Linked DNA regions of Homo sapiens: regions 1 and 3 are each linked to region 2. Evidence: promoter capture Hi-C in human tissues and cell types (Jung and others, 2019). All regions are on one chromosome and are shown on one strand. Each heading gives the region's core, a stretch centred on a gene start or on the middle of the fragment in contact. The rest is flanking DNA. Distances are from core to core; before and after follow the strand shown.

Evidence for each region. Contacts are between HindIII fragments. The study calls those that stand out against the background at their distance.
Region 1: a contact is called between a fragment that was not itself captured here and the fragment with the promoter of SLC6A3 in region 2, in 1 of the 25 tissues and cell types used here (lymphoblastoid cells).
Region 3: a contact is called between a fragment that was not itself captured here and the fragment with the promoter of SLC6A3 in region 2, in 3 of the 25 tissues and cell types used here (heart left ventricle, small bowel and stomach).

The regions. Positions count from the first base shown.
Region 1 is chr5:1,313,114-1,316,891 of GRCh38, forward strand. No RefSeq gene overlaps it. Among named protein-coding and RNA genes, the nearest start is that of MIR4457, 5.6 kb to the left of the region's middle. RefSeq lists enhancers at 2,803-3,192, 3,483-3,632. The HindIII fragment of the contact is 3,780 bases long and covers 1-3,462 here.
Region 2 is chr5:1,443,943-1,447,716 of GRCh38, forward strand. SLC6A3 (solute carrier family 6 member 3) reads right to left here and starts at 1,498. Exons shown (of 15, transcript NM_001044.5): 1 at 1,406-1,498. RefSeq lists an enhancer at 2,136-2,635. The HindIII fragment of the contact is 20,714 bases long and covers 1-3,774 here.
Region 3 is chr5:1,578,655-1,582,369 of GRCh38, forward strand. It overlaps the pseudogene SDHAP3. Among named protein-coding and RNA genes, the nearest start is that of LPCAT1, 57 kb to the left of the region's middle. The HindIII fragment of the contact is 4,730 bases long and covers 1-3,715 here.

The DNA of each region.
Region 1 (3,778 bases), core at 323-2,822, 130 kb before region 2:
TCTCAGCCTCACCGTCCGTGGCCACGGCAGCTTCAGTGAGCCAGCCCTGCACAATCAGCTCTGCAAGGTGTGATTGGAGGGAACAGGAAACAGAAAACACAAAGAGAAGCCACCCAGAGGGTTGGTGAGGATACAAAGGGTTTTCAACGCCGCTAGTCAGCAGGGAAATGCACATTTAAACCGCGAAAAGGCTCCACTACACACCCACCAGAGTGGCTAAAATTAGACAGCAGCATTGTGTGCTGGAGAAGGGGTGATGCCATGGGGCTCACATGCCACAGTGCACAGCCAGAGTGGCACAGACCCCTTAGAACACGGGTGACATGTACTGGAGCTCAGCACACATGCACCACAACAGCCATGTCCCCCCTGGGTCTGTGCCCAAAGGCAGGCACAGCCACGTGCATGATTTGATCCGTAACGGCCCCGGTTCGTGCCATGGAATGCCACATGGAAGAAAGTCACAATGAGCACCGCTTGCGACAACACAGATGGACGCCAGACAGAGCCCAGCCCGAGAACCTGGGTACCAGAGCTCCCAGCATGACTGTTCATGTGTGGGACTTGGACCCGGTGACCCATGGGCTGGGTTCACCCGCCTGGTTTCCACTGAGAGGGCCCCGTGGGGCCGGGGTCTGTCTGTAGCCTGACTCGGGTGCTTGGTGCTGGAGTCTGGAAGCATGCAGGGCTTGTTGAGCTGCACGGGGTGCATCTGCCATGACACTGTGTGGAAATTGTATAGCAACAAGTTTTTTAAAAGTGCCTGCCGGCCTGGTGCAGCAACTCATGCCTGTAATCCCAGCACGTTGGGAGGCCAAGGCGGGCAGATCACGTGAGGTCAGGAGTTCAATACCAGCCTGGCAACATAGTGAAACCCCATCTCTACTAAAAATACAAAAATGAGCCGGGCGTGGTGGCAGATGTCTGTAACCCCAGCTACTCGAGAGGCTGAGGCAGGAGAATCGCTTGAACCCGGGTGGCAGAGGTTGCAGTGCCAGCCTGGGTGACAGAACGAGACTCCGTCTCAAAAAAAAAAAAAAAAAAAAAGTGTCTGCCTCTCAGTGCACCAGCTGAGTCCAGCCAGCAGGACAGAAGCCACTGGGACATCACACTGAAGGTTCAACAAGGGAAATGGCAGGATGAGGGGGAGGTGGGCATGTCCCCCCAGACATCCCGGTTCAGCCCCAGAACCGCGGATGTGATCCCACGTGCCAGAGTGGACTCGGTGGCCACCATCACACTTGGATCTTGGATGGGAGATGATGCTGGGTAATCGTCTGGGACTGATGTAACCACAGAGGGTCGGGGTGAGAATCAGGGATATGACCACGGAGGCAAAGGTTAGGGTGAGGCGAAGAAGGCCACAAGCCCGGGAATGCAAGGAGCACAGCTCTCGAGGTGGAGAGCACGAGGAACGGAGCACCTGGAGCCCCTGGAGGGCAGGGCCTGCCCACACCCCAGTGGCCGCGCAGGGAGGTCTGGTCTGGACTCCTGGCCTCCAGAACCATCAGAGAACAAATATGCTGCTTGAAGCATGAAAGCTGTGGGGATGGTGGCCGTGGCTGGGGGACACTCAGGCGGTGGCTTTTCTGGGACCAGTGTCTCTGCAGAGGCTGCTGCTCTGAAAGCATGGTGGGCCACAGGGCGCCACACCCCCTTGGGTCCTGTGCCTGCTTCAGGAAAGGGGTAAGCAGTGTGGTATACGCCAAGACCTCCTCCTGGTTTCCCTCCTCCGCATGGATCACTCCTCGAACACAGCCCCTGCTTCGTCAGGGTTCCGTAGCCTCACCTATCGCAGGCTGCACCCCATCCTTCCTCCAGACCCCTGGCCTGTGGGGCTTACCGGGGCCGAGGCCAACAGACTGATCTCGTTGCCAAAGACCCAACAGCCACCAAACTGGCTTCAACAGGGCTATGTGTGGCAGGTACTTCACAGGGGGACGTGTTCTCATTTTCCTTGGCTTTCTAATAAACTCTGGTCTAAAGAAAATCTCTTCTATAAAATGAGTGGCCAGTGCCAAGGGGTAGAGACAGAAGCTCCTTCTGGACACTGGCTGCTCCAGTAGAGCCCATCCTGCCCAGGTACGGAGCCCACCAGCTGCGATCAGGACACTGCAGTTCCACCGTGGGGGACCCCGGGCCCTCACCTTGTCAGTCCTCTGTTTCAGCTTCGAGGGCTTTGACACAGTCTAAAATCCACAGGTACTTAGCGCATTTCTAAGTCCCACCTCATGATCAATCATAAGACAGGGCTTTGATGGTATGCAGAAATATCAATGAAATCCAAGAGGAAAACAGAACTAAACTCATCGGGATGAATGACAGATAAACCCTTTAAGCATGTTTCAAGTCGCCCAGGTGGAGCCTCTGTTGGTCAGTGAAGCTTCAGGGTTCCCATGAGATGGATCTGCATGAGGCTCAGTCCTCTCTTGAAACACTGCCCATTTGCAGGAGCGCCGGCCCACAGGGCAGAAGTCAGACTGTCAGAGCAAGTGCCGGTCCTGAAGCTGGAAGGACTTTCAAGGCTCATTCCCCAAACTCATTTTTTTTTAAACCTCTGCTCATCTTAAAGAAAGGAGAGGCAGGCGCCCCAGAAACCTCTCAGGAGTAACTGACACACGTGACTTGCGGTGTCTTCAAAGGAACACTCTGCAACTTGCTACTGTTTAAACAGAGCAAGACTAACAGTCACCAGCAGCTGGTTCACGCATTAAGGCCCTTTGCAGGTGAAAGAAAACGGCACTGGAGGGCCGACTGCAGAAGCAGACGCAGTGCACGGTGGACATCTGCCCCTTTTGGGGGCCTGCCACGGTGCTTCCTGAAAACTCAGGTTAAGCTGACTCTGCTGTCAGGCTGATGAGGCGCCTGCACCCACCTTTGCTCAGCACGCCAGCCCAAATGGAAGAGCAGGTGCTATGACAAAAATCAGTTCTTGTAGCAACTATTTTTGATACTGAAACTGAAAAGCGAGAGCAGCAAAGCTATCCACGGAGCTCCTGACAGTTAGGCCCGGCTTTGGCTGCTGATGCAGGGGCCGAATGACGCTATTTCTGCAGCAGCCGGCCGCAGGCGCTGACCCACCGCGGGATGTGCCCCAGGAGGCAGAAGAAACGCTGGGAACCGCACCTAACCTTGCCAGCATCCCCCAGGCAAAGCCAGGCACTTTGAGTTCATCGGTGGAGTTGGGCGATACTCCTTTCCCGTTTGTGTGCTTAGCTGCTGCCAACAGGATGTGCTGGGTGAAGCCTTACAGAACACAGCCAGTTGTGTTTTATAAAGCAAGGCTCCCCTCCCCCAAAGACAAATAAAACCACAGGTGTGGAAGGGACACCCTCCACCGCACCCCGCCCTAGTAATCTGACACCGCAGGCAAAGGCACGGCCTGTGTGGGTAAGATCCATTGTAAACGTTTAAAACTTCCTGTTCCCTGATGCCTCAACTTCCCCGCAGACCGACGCACCTGTGATGGGCAGGGCCGTGTGACCTCGTGACCTTCACATACACCAATGAAGACCCTCACGCCTTCTGCTGTCTTTCCCCCACTGCTGACTTGCCTGCGGGCCCCCACTATCTGCCCTGCCTCTGGAGCCGCCTCCCGTGTGCCCCCCCAGGCCCCTTAAGGTGCTGTGCGTCCCATCTGGAACCGGCAGTTCACCCGCTCTCCCAGCCACCCTTCCAGACCCCACTTACAACACACGACTAAGTAACACAGTACAGGCCGTGTATTCGTATTTGTTTTCCTGTGCCAACTCATCTGGTATCTTCGTATTTTAATGAA
Region 2 (3,774 bases), core at 248-2,747:
CTGCCTCAGCCTCCCAAAGTGCTGAGATGACAGGCATGAGCCACCAAGCCTGGGCTTGTATTGTTTATACTCAGTAATAAAGAGCAAAATTTATATAAGCAAAATCAGCCACTGTAAAGAGAGTTTAGACATAACCATCACAACTGCTTCCTCAAAAAGTGTCTGTACAAGCCACATCCACCTAGGGCAGGTGGCACCACCCCGCGTGAGAGAGCTGGGCGGAGGATGGACAGGGCTTCATCGCGGGAACTAGCTCCTGGGCCAGCAGGGTAACCCGGGAAATCCTGTCCAAACGGCTACATAAACCCCCCTGCAACGCTGAGCAGGAGAGCAGGAGCGTCTACACCGCCCCAGCCAGGGCGACTTCTGTCATTTGGATCCAGCAGCAGCGTGTTTCAGTCGAGCGCACGCACACACAGACACACAGACACACACAGACTCACAAACACACATACACACTCACACACACACAGGCGAGCACATACACTTACACACATACACACTCACACTCACACAGGTGCGCACACACACACAACGACTGAAGCAGGTCGCAGGTGGAGGCTCTAACAGGCAACTTTCCCTGCATCCAAGTTTGCACAAAACCTCACCCATGAGCTATCACGAGCTATGCCACGCACCCGGTGACAACCTCAACCGGCACGACCCCTCCGGTGGGTAAAACACCCGACGAAGGGGTTCCGCGGCGCGAGCAGGAGGCCGCGTTGGGAGAGGGCGTCGGGTGCGGAGCTCGCGAGTCTCCGGCAAGCCGCCGCCGCCCTGGGGCCACCTGACCCCGCTCCTGAACGCGGGGCCTCAGAGGCGAGTTTTGGGTCTACACAGCAAAATGTGGCCCGTTAGAAAGCGTCCTTCCTCACCGCGCCCAGAACAAGAAGCGGCGCTGCCTGGCGAGTCCTCGCCCGGCCTCCCCGCCCTGCCCAGAGCACCAGCGCGCAGCCCGCGCCCGCCACCACCCCCAACACAGACAAAGCCCCCGCGAGATGGAGCGGCGGTGTACAAAACCCACTCCGATCGGATCTGGGATGCGCCGCACCCCTAGTAGGGTTAAGTTCCACGAGAAGAAACCAGGACCCCCGAGTCACAGCCATAGACACCCACGCGTCCCCTAAGCCGGTGACTGCACCAGGTGCCCACCCGGTTCTGAGCCTGGAGCGGGGCCAGGGGCAGCCCTGCACCCTCCTCGCGCCTCGGACGGCCTCAGGGTCCCATGTGGCGCTATCGGGGGGCGCTCGGCACCCGCGACTGTTGGCGACTTTGGAGACGGCGCGGTCTGCGGGACGCGGGGACCCCAGACTGTGCCCGGTCCCCGGCCCCCGCCCCTGCGCCCCACTTCGGGGTCTGCGGAAGGAGCGGGGCGCCCCGATGCCGCGAGCGACGCTGGCCTCACCTGGCCGCCCGGGCCTGGGCTTTGCACGCGAGTCCTGGCGCCGAGAGCGTTCCGCGAAGCCTCCCCTCCCGCTCCGCAGCGCTGGGCGGTCTCAGCCTCGGCCTCGGGCTCTTATCCAGTAGACAGGGTCCGCCCCGCCCCGCCCTCCCGCCGACGGGGTCGCCCTCGCGTCCTGGCTCCTCCTCCTCACCTCCCCGGGCCGCGCCCCCGCCCCCGCCTCCCGGACGCAGATGGCTGGGAGCAAGCGGCGGCCACGGCTCCACTGTCCTGCGCGTCCCGGAGCCTCGGACACGGGGTGCGGGGGCCTGGGGGTCCGAGACGTCGCGGATCTAGACGGGCGCCTTCCACGCGGGAACTGTCTGGGCCGCCCTGCGCCCTCGCCCGCACCCCTGGGGGCTGCCCCGGGCACCCGCTATCTTCGGACGCCCAGGGCTGGCGGCTCCCAGCTGGACGGGGAGGGAGCCGAGCGGCTGCGCGCGGGGAACTGCTGGGACCCCGTCGGGCCGACCCTTCCCTCCCTCCCCATCAGGGGCCCCTACGGTGGCCCCGCGCTCTGGGGACCACGTCCCTCCCACCCCGCCGCTCCACGCTCTGACCAGCGGGCTCGGGACCCCGCCGAGGACTCTGCACGCTTCCCGGCGTGCGGGCTGCGGAGACGCGGGTCCTTCCGTGGCCTTGGGGTCTCCGCGACCTCGAGGCGACCGAGGTCCCCTAGGCCTAGTCCCCGCCTTGCCGGCATCTAGTGCGCCTGCATCGGAACCGAGGGGCCCGCCTCGCACTCGCCTAAGAAAACCATTTCCCGGGACGGGCCTGGAAAGCCCTGGCGGTTGGTATCCGGCTCCAGGGCCGAATGGACTCCGAGGCTTTCCTTCCGAGATGCCCGGGCGGGATTTCTTCCATTCAGCGCGCGGAGGAATGGAGCCCCCAGGCCGCCAAGGCCCAGGATGTCCAGGTCCTTAGAAGGCACCGAGGTGAGTGGCCGCGCCCAGCTCTGTGCGTCGCCCCTAGGGTCGCCCGAACCCCGGCGTTCCTCCCCGTGTACCCTCGATGCTCCCGTGAGCACCCTGCCCTGGGCGTCCAGGCGAGCCCTGGGGCTCTCCAGCCATTCCAGCCTGCAGCCCGCGCTCAGCAGTGAGGGAGGCAGGGACCCTTGGTGCCTGACTCCGCAGTACCCGCCCGCAGCGCGGTGCCCCACCCCCTGCGCCCGCCCCGCACTCCCCGCACACCACCACTCCCCTCCCCGCCCCCCGCTCCCCCGCTCCCCGGCTCCGGGGCTGGCACCCAGGCAGAAGGCACTCAGGGCTGTGACTTCACGCTGAGTTGGAATCAAGTGGGAGCCTAGTGACCCCCTGGGGCTGCCATGACAAAAAACTCCACAGCCTGGGGGCTCACACAGAAGCCTTCAGTTCTAACGGTTCCGGTGTCCCGAGGCCAAGGCCTGGCCGACTCTGTGTCTGGTGAGGGCCGCTTCGGGGTTGCAGACAGTTCTCTCCCTGTATCTCCCCACGCTAGGGGCTGGGGAGAGCTCTCCGGGGTCTGTTTTATGAGGGCACTGGTCCCATTCCTCAGGGTGGAGCCCTCCTGGCCTGACCACCTGAAGGCCTCCTGACACCACCTCCCATCAGGGGTGGGACTTCATCGCCAGGGAGGTGAGGGGACTTCAGGAGAGGGGGATGTGCCACCTCGAAGCTGTAGTGTGTCAGTGGCTGCCACAGAAGGGATCTCTCTACCCCTATTATCTCCATGGCACAGGTTTCAATAAAAAGGAGTGAGCCAGGGCTTGGCCCCAGAGCAGCAGGGTTGAGGAAACAGTCTCCCAAGGAAAAGACTTTGCAGGTGACTAAGGGAGGCTGTTAAATAAAACACACAGAGAGAATGGATGTTCAGGTATATTAAAAATACACAGGCCAGGAGTGAGGGCTCACGCTTGTAATCCCAGCACTCTGGGAGGCCGAGGAAGGAGGATCTCTTGAGGCCAGGAGTTTGAGACCAGCCTGGGCCACATGGCAAAACCCTGACTTTGAAAAAAAAAATTAGCCAGGCATGGTGGCCCACACCTGTAGTCCCAGCTACTGGGGAGGCAGAGGTGGGAGAATAGCTTGAAGCTGGGAGGTGGAGGTTGTAGTGAGCTGAGATTGCGCCATGGGCCACAGGATGAGACCCTGTCTCGAAACAAAACAACACACAGGCAAACAGCGTTTGGGAAGGGATTGCAAGCGCTGCAGGAGCGCAGAATTGTGACCCAAAGCTAACAGGGTACAGGCAGGAAGGTGCAGGGACTAGAGGTCACACAGATCCAGGCAGCCACATCCTTACTGACCAGTAGCACACAGAGAATGCACCTGCCACACTCAGGAGGGGCCACTGAG
Region 3 (3,715 bases), core at 1,066-3,565, 140 kb after region 2:
TCTTTCCCAAATTTTGATCTTATTAAGAGCTATTAACAGTTTCCACAAATCCTTATGTTTAGCTCCTACAAAGGGCCATATCATTTGAGGTTGAGGTGCCACTACACCGCCATGGTTCCAGATAATAGGAATTCTTGCCGTATTTCTTATCATTTCTACCATCTGACCATTTTGTTCAGACCAGCTGAACATAGTGGGGCCGTGGCACACAGACTGAGAGGTGCAATTCAAGCTAAACATCCCCGTAGGGGATCAATCAATAATGATTCCATAGGAATCGTTGCCAGCACCCCTGCCTGTTCTGCAATGCAATCTTCCCAAACATGTACGTTCATTTTCTCTGACTGGGTCCAATCCTGTTTACAGATAGGTTTTTGAGGGCGGTATGCCTCAATTATAGGAGCAGATTTATCATGGTAAATACTGAGATCAGAAAGCATGTGTAACTGTGTCATAGAGTGATTACATCCAGGCATTCTTGCCAGCCAAGATTGATAAATATGCCCAGTAAGTATAATTGTTCTCTGTGTCAGCCCTTGTTGAAGGAATACTCATGGCAATGGTGATCACCACTATCATAGCTACCATTAAATTACTCATTTTGACTGGTTGTCCCACTTACCTCAGGTTTTCTTCTGCCATCTGTGACAGCTTCTTGATCTGACCTCAGGTGGATGGCTGTGTTTGACGGGTGTTGCTCGTGACAGTTGGGGTCCTCCTCAGCATCAGTCTTGACATGGCTGCAACTGGGGGGGTCCTCGGGATCCTCCCGGAATCTCTTCCTCAGCATTCGCTCATGATAAGGTTTCAGGTGTCTTGATGGTTCAGTCCTGGAGAAACATAAGCATAACCTCTACCCCAAGTTATTATTTTACCTATTTCCCAACTTTCTGTTATCAGGTCTCTCCACCAAACCAGTTGTTCTGCTTCTGTCTTTGCAGCTGGTTTCTGTAGATGCTGTTCAGCTGCTGATAAGATCCGGCCTTTAGGCAGGCTCAAAAAATTTAAAGTTAATAATGCGATTCAATTGCTTATGGGGTGTCCTGTAGTACCTGTTTTCCCCCTTTTGCTTCTGCAACTGCTGTTTCAGGGAGAGATTCATTCTTTCCACTATGGCTTGTCCTTCAGAATTATATGGGATATCAGTAATGTGTTTAATATTCCGTATAGAGAAAAATTTAGCTAGAGCTTGAGAATTAGGTTCCAATCCTCGAGGATTAACTCCTCCTGTAAAAGATGAGGAATGTACCATTTGGCAAGTTGGGCATCGCTGGATAATAGCTTTAGCTTCTTTCCAGGTACTGCTGTATCTGCGTTTGAGACCAGAGGTATTAACACGGGTTAAATTGTGAAAGTGTCCAGCATTAGATATTGCAGTAGCAACTAGGCGATCAGCCATTTGATTCCCTGCAGTCAAAGGTCCTGGAAGAGGTGTATGAGCCCTAATGTGAGTGATGTAAAAAGGGTGCATTCTACTCCTAACTGCTGTTTGCAATTGCATAAATAAAGTCATCAGTTGTTCATCTGTATGAAATCGTAACTCAGCATTTTCAATTAATTGTGTCGAATGAACCACATATGAAGAATCAGAAATCACATTAATAGGCATATTAAAAGCAGTCAATACCTCAATTACAGCTACAAGCTCCGTTTTTTGAGCTGAAGCATAGGGTGTCTGGAAAACTTTACCTTTCGAGCCAGAGTAAGAAGCTTTACCATTACTAGACCCATCTGTAAAAACATTCTCCACACGTTCAATTGGTTTAGTTATTTTAGGGAGAATACAATTAGTTAATTTCAAAAATTGAAACAGTTTCATTTTAGGAAAATGATTATCGAGAATACCCAAAAAGTCAGCTAAATGGGTTTGCCAAGTAAGACTATTTATAAAATCTTGCTGTATTTGTGCCTTCGTGAGAGGGACAATTTTTTCAGGATCATATCCATGTAATTTAACAATCCGAGTTCTCCCATTTCCTATCATAGTAGCAATTTGATCCAAATAAGGAGTTAGAGGCCATGAATTAGTATGTGGAAGAAAAAGCCATTCTACAAGATCTTGCTCTTGAACAATAACACCAGTAGCTGAATGTGGAGTTGGAAAAATTAGCAAATCTAGAGTCTTCTCTGGATCTATTCTATTTATTTGGGCTTTATGGACTTGCTTTTAGATCAGCTGCATCTCGAGTCTTCTCTGGATCTATTCTATTGATTTGGGCTTTATGGCCTTGCTTTTCAATCAGCTGCAGCTCGAGTCTTCTCTGGATCAATTCTATTCATTTGGGCTTTATGGCCTTGCTTTTTGATCAGCTGCAGCTCGAGTTTTCTCTGCATCTATTCTATTGATTTGAGTTTTATGGCCTTGCTTTTCGATCAGCTGCAGCTCGAGTCTTCTCTGGATCTATTCCATTTATTTGGGCTTTATGGCCTTGCTTTTTGATCAGCTGCAGCTCGAGTCTTCTCTGGATCTATTCTATTTATTTGGGCTTTATGGCCTTGTTTTTCGATCAGCTGCAGCTCGAGTCTTCTCTGGATCGATTCTATTGATTTGAGCTTTATGGCCTTGCTTTTCAATGAGCTGCAGCTCGAGTCTTCTCTGGATCGATTCTATTGATTTGGGCTTTATGGCCTTGCTTTTCGATCAGCTGCAGCTCAAGTCTTCTCTGGATCGATTCTATTTATTTGGGCTTTATGGCCTTGCTTTTTGATCAGCTGCAGCTTGAGTCTTCTCTGCATCGATTCTATTGATTTGGGCTTTATGTCCTTGCTTTTTGATGAGATGCAGCTCGAGTCTTCTCTGGATCATTTCTATTTATTTGGGCTTTATGGCCTTGCTTTTCGATCAGCTGCAGCTCGAGTCTTCTCTGGATCGTTTCTATTTATTTGGGCTTTATGGCCTTGCTTTTCGATCAGCTGCAGCTCGAGTCTTCTCTGGATCGATTCTATTTATTTGGGCTTTATGGACTTGCTTTTCGATTAGCTGCAGCTCTGCCTCAGCTTCTCTTGTTAATTACCGAGGGCTGGTGAGACTAGGATCTCCTCTAAGGATAGAAAACAGATTACTCATGGCATAGGTAGGAATGCCTAGAGCAGGTTGTATCCAGTTAATGTCCCCTAGTAATTTTTGAAAGTCATTTAATGTTTTCAATTGATCCCTACGTATGGCTACTTTCTGTGGCACAATGGTAGTGTCATTTACTAAGGTTCCCAAGTAGGAGTAAGGAGTAGTAATCTGAATTTTGTCAGGAGCTATAATTTAACCAGCACCAGAAATTGAATTTTGCAAGTGATCATAACACTGGAGTAATATTTCTTGAGTAGGGGCAGCACAAAGTATATCATTCATATAATGAATAATGTAACACAGTGAAAATGTTTTACGAGGAGGTTCAATTGCTTGCCCTACACAAATCCGGCAAATCGTTGGACTGTTTAACGTGCCTTGTGGCAACACTTTCCAATGAAAACGCTTAGCAGGCTGCAGGTTGTTTACTGCAGGAATTGTAAATGCAAACCGTTCACAGTCTTGCTCAGCTAAGGGGATAGTAAAGAAACAGTCTTTTAAATCTATGACTATTAAAGGCCAATTTTTTGGAATCATAGCAGGAGAAGGCAATCCTGGCTGTAATGTCCCCATAGGTTGTATAACTGAATTAATGGCTCTTAAGTCAGTTAACATTCTCCATTTACCTGATTTTTTCTTAATTACGAAAAT